2 separate regions of the Homo sapiens genome follow, and region 1 is linked to region 2. Evidence: promoter capture Hi-C in 16 types of primary human blood cells and fetal thymus (Javierre and others, 2016). All regions are on one chromosome and are shown on one strand. Each heading gives the region's core, a stretch centred on a gene start or on the middle of the fragment in contact. The rest is flanking DNA. Distances are from core to core; before and after follow the strand shown.

Region 1 (5,193 bases), core at 1,651-4,150, 250 kb before region 2:
GTTAGGTAGAGAGCTTTTCTGTTTCCTGCAAATAGAAGATTCCTAATTCCTATGGAAGATGCAAGAGAGCCTGAAGAATATTGCTTTCAATAATTAAGGAAGAACATTTCAAAATGGAAGAAGGGGTGAATAGTATCAAATGCTGAGAGTGTCAGATCAGAGACTTTTCTGAGGGGGAGCGGTTCTGAGGGGGAGCGGTGAGGGAGAACAGGGTCTTGCTCTGTTGCCCAGGCTGGAGTGTAGTGGTTTGATCGCGGCTCACTGTAGCCTCGACGTCCCGGGCTCAAGCGATCCTCCCACCTCAGCCTCCCAAATAGCTGGGACTACAGACATGTACCACCATGCCTGACTAATTTTTTTTAATTTTTGTAGAGATGGGGTCTTGCTATATTGCCCAGGCTGGTCTCAAACTCCTGGGTTCAAGCGATCCTCCTGCCTTAGCCTCCCAAAGTGCTAGGATTACAAGCGTGAGCCACCGCACCCAGCCCAGAGATGTTTTATAGTTACTCAAAAACTGTGTGACAGAAAAGGAACCTGGGGGTCAGAGAGGCTTCTAGAATCTGGCAGCCCCTACAGCCAGGACTCAGAACTCCCAGTCTGATCAGTTACCTCAAGGAGGAAAGGGAGATGTTTCCCCTTGGGGGAGCTATTTCCAGAGCTCCTCCTCACCCATGTCTTTGCTGTAGCCCTCCCTCCCCCAAGCCCAGCCCCACTCAACTCCTTTCCAGGGGCTCAGTGGCCATCTCCCTGCCCCCAGGCCAAACTCACCTGACTGTACCTCAGATAGAAGAATAGCTAATATTTTTAAAACTGTTTAGGGAAAAAGAAACCACCTTCCTCTTTACTTGCCACCCCAACACTGGGACAGTTCTTCCTCATGTCTAACCTAATTCCCTTCAGCTGGGAGGGACCCATCAGTGCTCCCACTGACCCACCCTTGTTGGGGGGCCTGTAGGGCATCTGAAGGTGACACACTGGACAAGGAAAGAGAGGCAGGCAGGCAATAGGAGTGGCTGCAGAGGCAGACGGGCGTCCTGCCCCAAATACGGCCCCCCGGGCTGCTGCGGCGAGGGCTGGGCTCTTCCTGAGCGGATTACCACTGTGGTCTAAGTGACTGAAGCTGCTGAGAATGCTATTGTAGCAAGAGGCTTACCGAAATGTAGACACCCAGCCCTGGCATGTCCCGACACACAGATGGGAAAATAAGCAGAATAAGCTCCCGGTGCTAAGCCGCTCTATTGTCCTGTTGCTGCTAAAACACCTTGCTGGGCTTTCTGCCAAGCGCCCACCCCTCCAGCACTGCTCACTGTGGCTCTGTGGGCTTCCCCTCTCCTGATGGCAGAGAGGCCGCCCTGCAGGAAGGTGACACAGGGAGGTCGACAGCCCACATGTCCGGCTGCCAGGCTATGCTGTTGAGCCTGAGTATGACAGAGGAGATGCATGCAGTTGGGTAACATGCCCAAGGTCACACAGCAGCACAGTAGCAGGGCCAGGGTTAGCATCTAGATTCCTAACCTCTGGTGAGAGGTCTCTCCCAGGCACCCTGGGTCCCATCTCATCCCAAGCTCTGTCTGCCACAAATCCCCCTTCCTGATTCCCCTACACACCCAGTTCTTTCCCTGCCACAGCCCAGGTGGCTGCCCTCTAGGAACCCTGATGAGCAGACTTGCAACAGATCAGTGTGCAGGTCGGCACGGGATCTTCCTCAATTCGGTGTTGGTTCACTTAACGGGGATGGAGTCACAGGCTGTGGCCACACGACGTGGAGGGAGATCAAGTCCCCACTGCTGCCAGGGGAAAACAGACTAGAAAACTCCCATCCCAGCATCTGAGGACATTAAGGGCAGGCCGGAAATGGGAGCGGATCTGCGATGCCCACTCCACGGGAGGCGAACTGTTGCTTCAGGGAGGAGGCCCTGGTGCCACACAGGTGCAAGGACTTGGGAACCCAGAGGAAGCACTGGGGCTTTCCAGGAGTCTGGTGGCTCTAGAATGGAGGGAGGAGGGGGGTGAGGAAGATGGGGCTGGGGGAGGGGGCAGGGTGGGTGGGGAGAAGATGGGTTTGGTGTAGCAGCAGGGCTGTGGGGTTCTACTGACTGCTGTGCACCTCCACCTGGGCGTCCCGCAAATACTTCCAAGACAACACACCCCAACCTCAACTCAGCGTCACTCCGACAGCCTTTCTCCTGTGTTCGGTGGCCTGGCCGGTGGCGCACCCTCCCCCAAGCACCCAGCCAGAGATCGGAAAGCCCCTCTTCACACCTCCCTCTTCACAAGCTTTCATTTCCTGCCAGTCACACATTTTGCCAAGTTTACCTTCTTGGTTTTTCTCAAATTCATCCTGCCCTCTCCCACCGCTGCCTTGGACCTCTTCTCACCTGGCTGCAGCAACAGCCTCCTGGCTGCCCTCGCGCCTCACCCCTGAAACCCATCCTCCATGCGGCCTCCAGCCTCATCCCTCTTTCCCGTTCAAACTTCCAGGGTCTCCGCATCCCCTGGGAGAGCATTTTAGGCTCCTTAGTATGACCAAAAGGATGTCTATGGTTTGACTCCTGCTTGCCACAGCCGTGCAGTATGGTGGTTAGAAGCACAGATGCTGGAGCCGGATTTCCTGGGTTCAAATCCTATCTGTGGCTGGGCGCAGTGGCTCACACCTGTAATCCCTGCATTTTGGGAGGCCGAGGCAGGCAGATCACTTGAGGTCAGGAGTTCGAGATCAGCCTGGCCAACTTGGTAAAACTCCACCTCTACTAAAAATACAAAAAATTAGCCCAGTGTGGTGGTGCACGCCTGTAATCCTAGCTACTCTGGAGGCTGAGACAGGAGAATAGCTTGAACCCGGGAAGTGGAAGTTGCAAGAGCTGAGATCACACCACTGCACTCCAGCCTGGGTGACAGAGCAAGACTCTGTCTCAAAAAAAAAAAAAAAACCTACCTGTTACTTTCTAGCTGTGTGTCCGAGGCAAGTCACTGAACCTCTCTGTGCCAATGGTTTTCTCACCTATGAAATCGGTATTTTAAGAGTACCTGCCTCATAAACTTGTTGCGAGGATTGAATGAGTTTTTCTGTGTAGAAGCAGTTAGAACTGGAATTATTACCCCCCTACCCCTGCCAGCCTGGCTTCTTCTCCTGCCCCTCTCTGTCTCACACGTTTGTATCCACAGCTCAGCTTTTCTTGTAATTCTCTCTCTAGCAATTGTGCCATTTCTCAGCTCAGTGTCTGGGCCCCTCAAAGGGATAACTTCACCCTGCAGTCATCAGTCCACCCCCAAGAGCCACTGGTCTCCCCCGTGGCTTGGCTCTCCCTAGCACGTGGCTGCCTGCTTTCTTCTCTGTCTCCCCTGCTGCACTAGAGGTCCTTGAGGGCGGATCTGGGTTCCTGGTGCCTAAATCCTGCGTGGTACACAGGAGGCCCTTGATAAATATGTGTGGAACGAATGGTTGCAACATTGTTCCTGGAGAGTTCTCAGAACTCTCTGAGAGTTTGTAGTGAGGAGTGAGGGTGCTTATGAATGAAGCTTCACCCTGCCCCCCCACCCCCCACCACCCCACCCCCCTCCCCATCACCATGGTCCTGGGGATACATGTTAACATTCATGCCCTGCCCAGGTGTGATGGCTCATGGGGGAACTTGGAGACTTAGGAGATAGACAGGCAATGAAATAAGTGTGGTGATCAAGCAAGTATGGACTATAATGGAATGAATAAAATAAATGGTGGAGAGGCCTCATTGGGACCCCCAGGACTGCCCTCTGCTCATGTGGTGATATTGGCACCAAAGACAGGGTGTCTTAGCCAGGAGTAGCTCACTTCTGTCATCCCAGCACTTTGGGAGGGTAAGGTGGGAGGATTGCTTGAACCCAGAGTTCGAGACCAGCCTGGGCAACATAGCAAGACCCCACTTCTGCAAAAAATTAAAAAATTAGCCTGGCATGGTGGCACACACCTGTAGTCCCAGCTACTCGGGAGGCTGAGGTGGAAGGACAGCTTAAGCCCAGGAGTTTGAGGCTGCAGTGGGCCAAGACTGTGCCACTGCACTCCAGCCTGGGCAACAGAGCAAGACCCTGTCTCAAAAAAAATTTTTTTTTTTGAGACATGGTGTCTTGTGGTTACAGATTCTTGGCACCATGGCCCTCCTCCCTCCCTGCCCTCCCATGCCAAGGGCCAACATTGCTGCCCTTTAGTACCTGGAAGGGCTTCACACCATTAAGGGCTTAATATCATGAGGCCCCAAGGCCCCTGCCAGCTCACTGTGTTTAGAGCCATATTTAAATCAGTTCAATGCCTCTGGGAAGAGAAAGCCAGCTGCCCGGTGATCCCTCACTACCTCTCCAGGCAGCTCAGAGATGCCCTCTGAGCTTCTTCCTCCTGGGTTCATCTGGAAGCAATCTAACATTGTTTAAAAGCTAGCCTTGACAGGCAGATCAATTGAGGTCAGGAGTTTGAGACCAGCCTGGCCAACATGGAGAAACCCTGCCTCTACTGAAAAATACAATAATTAGCCGGGTGTGGTGGTGCATGCCTGTAATCCCAGCTACTCTGGAGGCTAAGGCACGAGAATCACTTGAACCCAGGAGGCGGAGGTTGCAGTGAGCCAAGATAGCACCACTGCACTCCAGCCTGGGTGATAGAGTGAGACTCAGTCTCAAATAAATAAATAGATAAATAAATAAAAGCTAGGCTCGAGCTGGACAGCTGGACAGCCTGGGTTTGAATCCTACCTCGACCCTGTAGTAGTTGGGTGGCCCTGGACAAATGTCCTCACCTCTCTGAGCCTCAGCTTCCGTATTTGTAATGAGACCTCCACCATGGAGCTGTGCAACTACATGACCTAATGTACATAAAGTGCTTACAGCAGTGCCTGCGTGTGATTAGCTCTGTTTTATGAACAATGCCCTTGCTTTTACTACATTGCGTTCTGTGTTACTTGCTCTGCTCTCCTGAGTCCTTGTGGGCAGTACCCTCTAGCTTCCTCATTCATCTTGGTATCCCCAGGGCCTGGCACAGTGCCTGGCTCAGAGCAAGGAGGCCAAAAATATTTGTGGAGTGACGTCTGACTTAACCGTCAGAATGAGCACTGGAATGGGCTGGAGCCAACAGCCAGTGCTGCCCACAGGTGGGCAGGGGCACGCTGCCTGGGGAGGGGTGTGAGGGAAGCGGGCCAGGACCAAGGGAGGCCCAGTCAGGGGATG
Region 2 (5,550 bases), core at 1,972-4,471:
CTTGCACCCGGTAGTAAACATGTTGTGATGAAGCAGACAGAGATAAACAGGAAAAGCCCTGCTTGTTTCCCCATGCTCCCACAAGCAGGCTGCAGCTGGGTTTTCTGCTCCTTACTGGGTCCACATTGCTGGGTTCAATGGTATGTTTTCTCTGGGGGCGGGGGGGGGGATGGGGGGATGGGGTGGATGGGGGCGCGGGGTAAGGGGAAGCCTCCTTTTCTTACACCTGATTTCAATTCTGGTTGAGGGCAGTTCGGCAGTTAATATCAAGTGTAAAGTTGTTACTACATCTGCCCCTGACCAGAATGAGGGCACTGCCAAAAAAAAAGAAAGAAAGAAAGAAAAAAAAGATAATACAGGAGAGTGGAAACGTGGCATCCCTTAAGGCGTCCCTCTACAGAGACACTGCAGCCCCCATGCCATGACCAACCCATCTTCCTCATGAAGGCAACTGGGGGAATAAATGGAGAAAGCAGTTTCCACTGCTGTCCTGAGTTGGAGAGTGGGGAATTTCCAAAGCTGCCTCTCACAGACTCAGCTGAGGGTCTCATTGGTCAAAGATTCAGGGTTTGCTGGCCAGACTCATCTGGACCGGCTCAGAATGAGGCTGAAGTCTGCAGCAGAAGGCTAGCCTCCTCCCCACAACAGCATTCAAGAGACCCCTTCCCCCTCACCATCTCACTTAAAACAGGAACTACACCTCCTGACCACATGGGATGGACTCGGGGGTGACAGCAGAGATAAACACCAAGGACTCCCTGGGCCTGGCAAAAGCTCAAGCTTCTTGTGCAGAGAGAGCCTATCCCACAGAGATCCTCTAGACATAAGTCTAGCCACGAAGCTCTGAAAAGGACGGCGGCAGAACCAGAGTTCAGATTTGAATAATTACTGCAAAGTTTAAAAAACACACACAACAATAACCTAGTCGTCCCCCTTTTCACTCCTCCCCAAGGCACACAGACAGGTAACATACACAGGTAAGAGCACACACACTCACCTGCGCTCTGACTTCCTGACTCTGAGCTGCTCAGGCCAAATGAGGAATGGCATTGGCTTATTCTGGTGAGCTCCTTAGTGGCTGCTGCCATAGGATATAGGCTTTATTAAATGCAACAGAGTCCTTTCCGTTTCCCTAGCCCAGACCCTGCACCTTCTCTGGAGAAAATAACTGTGAGGCATCAATTTCCAAGGCATCTAAGTTCCTTCCTTGGGCTGACATCTCGCTCAGCTGGACGGTGAGCTGGCTTGAGAAGCCTGAGCCTGCAGTCCCTGTGGCAGTTCCGGCAAAGGTGCATTATTTATCTCAGCTGCTGTTTTAATTGATAGAGATATATTCAAGACAGCTCGCCAATTGTCTCGGCAACCTCAGGCCGGAAAATAAACAGCTCCATGTGAACAGTTCTTTCGGCTTCTGGTTCTAGCTGCTGGCTCAGCATGTATGCAACTTGAACTGAGGCCCCAAACCAGCCCAAGCACTGCTCCACCACCTGTCAGTTCTCCACCCTGGGGGTTGGTTCAGCAGGCAGGCAGAGATCTCCAAGCACTATCTTAACCTCTGGCTCCACCTAACGGCAGGAAATCCACCTTCCCCCCCCGCCCCCGCCACCACCCCCCCCCCCCCGCCCCTTCACAGATCGGCAAACTGAGCTTCATCCAGGAAAGCGCTCAAAGATCCCAATGGGGCCCGGCACGGTGGCTCACGCCTGTAATCCCAGCACTTAGGAAGGCCGAGGCGGGTAGATCACCTGAGGTCAGTTCAAGACCAGCCTGGCCAACATGGCGAAACCCCGTCTCTACTAAAAATACAAAAATTACCCGGGCGTGGTGGCGGGTGCCTGTAATCCCAGCTACTCTGGAGGCTGAGACAGGAGAATCGCTTGAACCGAGGAGGTGGAGGTTGCAGTGAGCCGAGATCGCGCCACTGCACTCCAGCCTGGGCGACAGAACGAGACTCCGTCTCACACACATACACACACACACACACACACACACACACACACACACACACACACAAAGATCCCAATGGGTAGAGACTTACTCAGCAAGGAAAACTAATGGTCACCTGCTGTCCACTTTTTGGTTAGCATCTTGGATTTCTCCAGCCCTTTGTCTGCGAATAACACTTCACACATTATTCAAACAATCTCGGATGGGTGAGTCACTAAAACGCTTGCTGAATAATGGGGAACAAACACAGAGACCTGACACGGAGCTGAAAGACAGAGGCATAAATGGTACCTGACGTCCCCCCTGGGGTGCCAGCAAAGCATCCGCTCATCCTCTCTGACCTTTGCCTGGCTTCCCCCCTCACTTTTATCCTGTTAAAGCACTTCTGCGTGGGGTGGCGAGAGCTAAGTCGCGGGCTGGGCTTGCCGGGGGGATGGTCTGCGCTCACCTTTAAATCAGGAGGCTTGCTTCGGGGACCTGGGTTGGGCGCCGCGGCAGCGCCGGCGTCTGAAGTTGGCCCGCCAGCAGAGTTAGCACCCGTGGTCTCCCCAGGCCGGAGGTCCGCGCCCGGCAGGTGGGAAGCGGCATCTTCCAGCCCAGCTCCATCCTCCTCGCCCTGTTGTTGCTGCAGCTCGTCCGATCTGCACCTCTTCATGGTGTATGTGGGTCGGCAAGGGGAATCTGTCCTTCCAGCGCGCCGTCTTGGGGAAGACCGCACCCCCTCTTATATTCATATGAGGCCTGGGGTCTAAATTATTAACAAGGAGGGGAGATGGCAGACCACAATTTCTTGAATTAAAAAAAAAATTCTTAAAGGCGGGTGAGGGAGGGGCGAGAAGGGGGAGCCTTGGTTATAGCTTGGAATAGTTCATTTCGACCTGGGGAGCGAAGACAGGTCACAGTCGAGGCTGGGCAGCAAGAGTCCTTGGGCAGTCATTGCAGGAGGGAGAAGGGAGACAACCCCCGGCCCCCAAACTTTCTGCTTCAGGGCATGGGCAGGACGGAGAGGAGCTGGGCGGCACAGCGCATCCCTCCCGGCCGGCCGGGCTGCGGGGCGAGGCGGGGCGCGGGGCAGCCGGCCGGGCAGGTCCTAGTCGGCCGCCATCGGCGCCGGCTGCAGCCCCCGGCCCTGCAACCGGCCCCTGCCCCGCATGGTCCGGCCGCGGAGCCCGCAGCGCGCCCGGCCCCCTCCCCGGCCCGCGCGCCCCGCTCCCCGCCTGACGCGCAGCCTGCCGCAAAGCCGCGACCGCGGCCCGAGCCCGCGGCGAGCGCGCAACCTACCCCGCCCGGCTGCCTCCGCCCGGGAGCGGGAAGGCGAGGCTAGGAGGGAGTGACAGCGGCAACCGGCCAATGGGAAGCCCGCGGGGCTGAGGGGGCGTCGCGCAGCTTCGTTTTTGGGGTTGGTTGCACCGTGCGATCCCCCAGGAGAGGGCTGGAGGACGATGCTGCTGCGTTTTTGCATTGCAGAGAGCGGGCTGCAGTTCAGGGGCGGGGGCGGCGGGCGTGGGAGTCGCAGTTTCGGCTCCAGCTTGAGGGACCCTGCCGAGGAGGGCTCGCCCAGGATTTCCTCCACCCATTCGCTTTATTTGGCGAGAAGGAGCACAAGAGGGATGTTTATTATCACTGCTTTTTGGGGCTCTTAACTTTGCACCTTCTAGCCATAAGGGAGACACCTATCCCCTCTAGGATACTTGGTCTGAGTTAAATCTATGCCTACATTCAGAGCTGCAAATGCCAAGGGGAGGGGGCGTTCTCTCCTCATCGCCCCGTCCCCCGCTTTAAGTGCATTATTTCTTAATGAGACTTTACTTGGCATAATTTATGCTCAGAAATTGGGAAGAATTTCATATAAAAACACAATAACGTATGTGAGAGTTCCTTACAAACTGTGAAGCAGCTTTTAAATAAGAAAGGGTATTAATGGCAGGAGGTTGCTACATATAGATGTGTGGAAAGGGAATGCTGTCTCTCTTTGCATAAATCTCAGCCAAACTGTGCTGAGTAATCTGGAAGCAGAAGAGAGCAAACGTTGGGGTTACCAAGATATGGAGAGTAGTAATAATAACAACCCCATCTGAGTGTCTATTGTATGCCTCCTGTGGACACAATGGATTTTACTCATCCAGCAACCAGTGGTTCACAAATTGTGATCCTTGGACTAGCAACTTCAGCATCACACGGGAACTTGATAGAAATGCAAATTCTTGGCCACCAGCCAGACCTAGAGAATCAGAAGTAGTGAGCCAAGAAATCTGTGTTTTGACAAGCCCTCCAGGTAATTCTGACACACACTACCCTTTGAGAACCACTGGCCTAGACAGTGAAGGGGCCACACGGTCTCTAAAGGATTTTACAGTTTACCAATCTCTTTCGCACCCATCATGCCATTGTAGCCTCACTTCAGTCTCACTAGTCGGAGTTTCTTGACTTTCTGTTCTGTCTTCTTCCCATTCCAACCACTCATTTTAATGTGTATCCTAGAAGAGACTAATTTGTTAAGAATTTACTTCAGCCAAGCAGCTACTTTCTAAACTAGGCAGCTCCACTTTTAGAAGATAGGAATTTAGGATGGGCTGGGAATGTGGAACCACCCCCCACATCTACCACAAAGAATCGAGCACAATGTGGAAACACAAAGCTATAAGCCTTTATTTAGCATTTTCAATGGTGAGGGGATGGCAGGATGCCAGTGTAGACCGTGGGCAGGACTAGACAGAACCGGTGGGGGCAGGTTCCCATGGTGCAAGGTTTCAAGCAGAGGAATATACTGCTCCCTGCCTGACTTGGCCCAGATAAGTGCAGCGGCCCCAAAGACCCTGAGCAAGTCTTGAGGGGCACGCGGTGGCCAGCAAATGGTGAGCATGCATTGACACATGTTCATGACCTGACTCGAAGCCGAAGGAAAGTGAAGGGATTTGGTTTAAGGAAGGGATTTGGTTTCGTTTAAGGAAGCAGAGAGCATTATAATTTTGAATTATGCCTCATTTCTATACTAGATAAAAGTTGGTCTTAAGTTTGATTTTTATATTATCATATACATACAGCATGACAGCCACATTTTCTACTTGTCGTCATATTTGCAAGGTGTGATTCAGGTCAGCAAAAAAGTCTGTGGTGTGTTTCATAAAATCAGCTAATACTTTACATTCCATTTTGGAGAGGCATCATAGCATAATGGTTAAGAGCTCAGGCTCTATGGCCAGATAGGGGACAAATCCTAGCTCTGCTCTTCACTGACCATGTGAGTGGGGACACGTTATCTAACCTCTTCATGCTCCAGTTTCTGAATTATTTGGAAGTAGGGATAATGACAGTACCTACCATACAGGGTGTTGGGTAATATATGTAAAGCACTTGGACATTGCCTAGCAAAGAATGAGGGCCATAGCTATAACCACAGATGTCATCCAGTTTCAGAAGTGTTGCACATTTCACTCCAATGCTTCTATCTTCAGGAGTTCAAATGTGTCCCACCAATTTCTGACTTTCACTGAGTGTCATATTATGGAATAAGTGTGCTACTGCCAAAGAAGTTTGGCTGAGAAGTCTGTGTAGAGACCTGAGTGACCTATAACCACCAGTTTGAAGCCAATGGCAAATTTT

Evidence for each region. The method cuts DNA at HindIII sites, captures the fragments that hold promoters and counts their contacts. A CHiCAGO score of 5 or more calls a contact.
Region 1: a contact is called between a fragment that was not itself captured here and the fragment with the promoter of TMCC2 in region 2, in 1 of 17 cell types (naive B cells). The highest score is 5.3, in naive B cells.

Annotation. Positions count from the first base shown.
Region 1 is chr1:205,477,917-205,483,109 of GRCh38, reverse strand. No RefSeq gene overlaps it. Among named protein-coding and RNA genes, the nearest start is that of TRK-TTT8-1, 6.4 kb to the right of the region's middle. RefSeq lists an enhancer at 1,236-1,836 and a silencer at 2,012-2,071. The HindIII fragment of the contact is 1,242 bases long and covers 2,280-3,521 here.
Region 2 is chr1:205,225,617-205,231,166 of GRCh38, reverse strand. It overlaps TMCC2 (transmembrane and coiled-coil domain family 2), which reads right to left and starts at 3,221. Exons shown (of 5, transcript NM_014858.4): 1 at 2,396-3,221. The coding sequence starts at 2,602. RefSeq lists a silencer at 3,121-3,300 and an enhancer at 3,431-3,570. The HindIII fragment of the contact is 5,482 bases long and covers 783-5,550 here.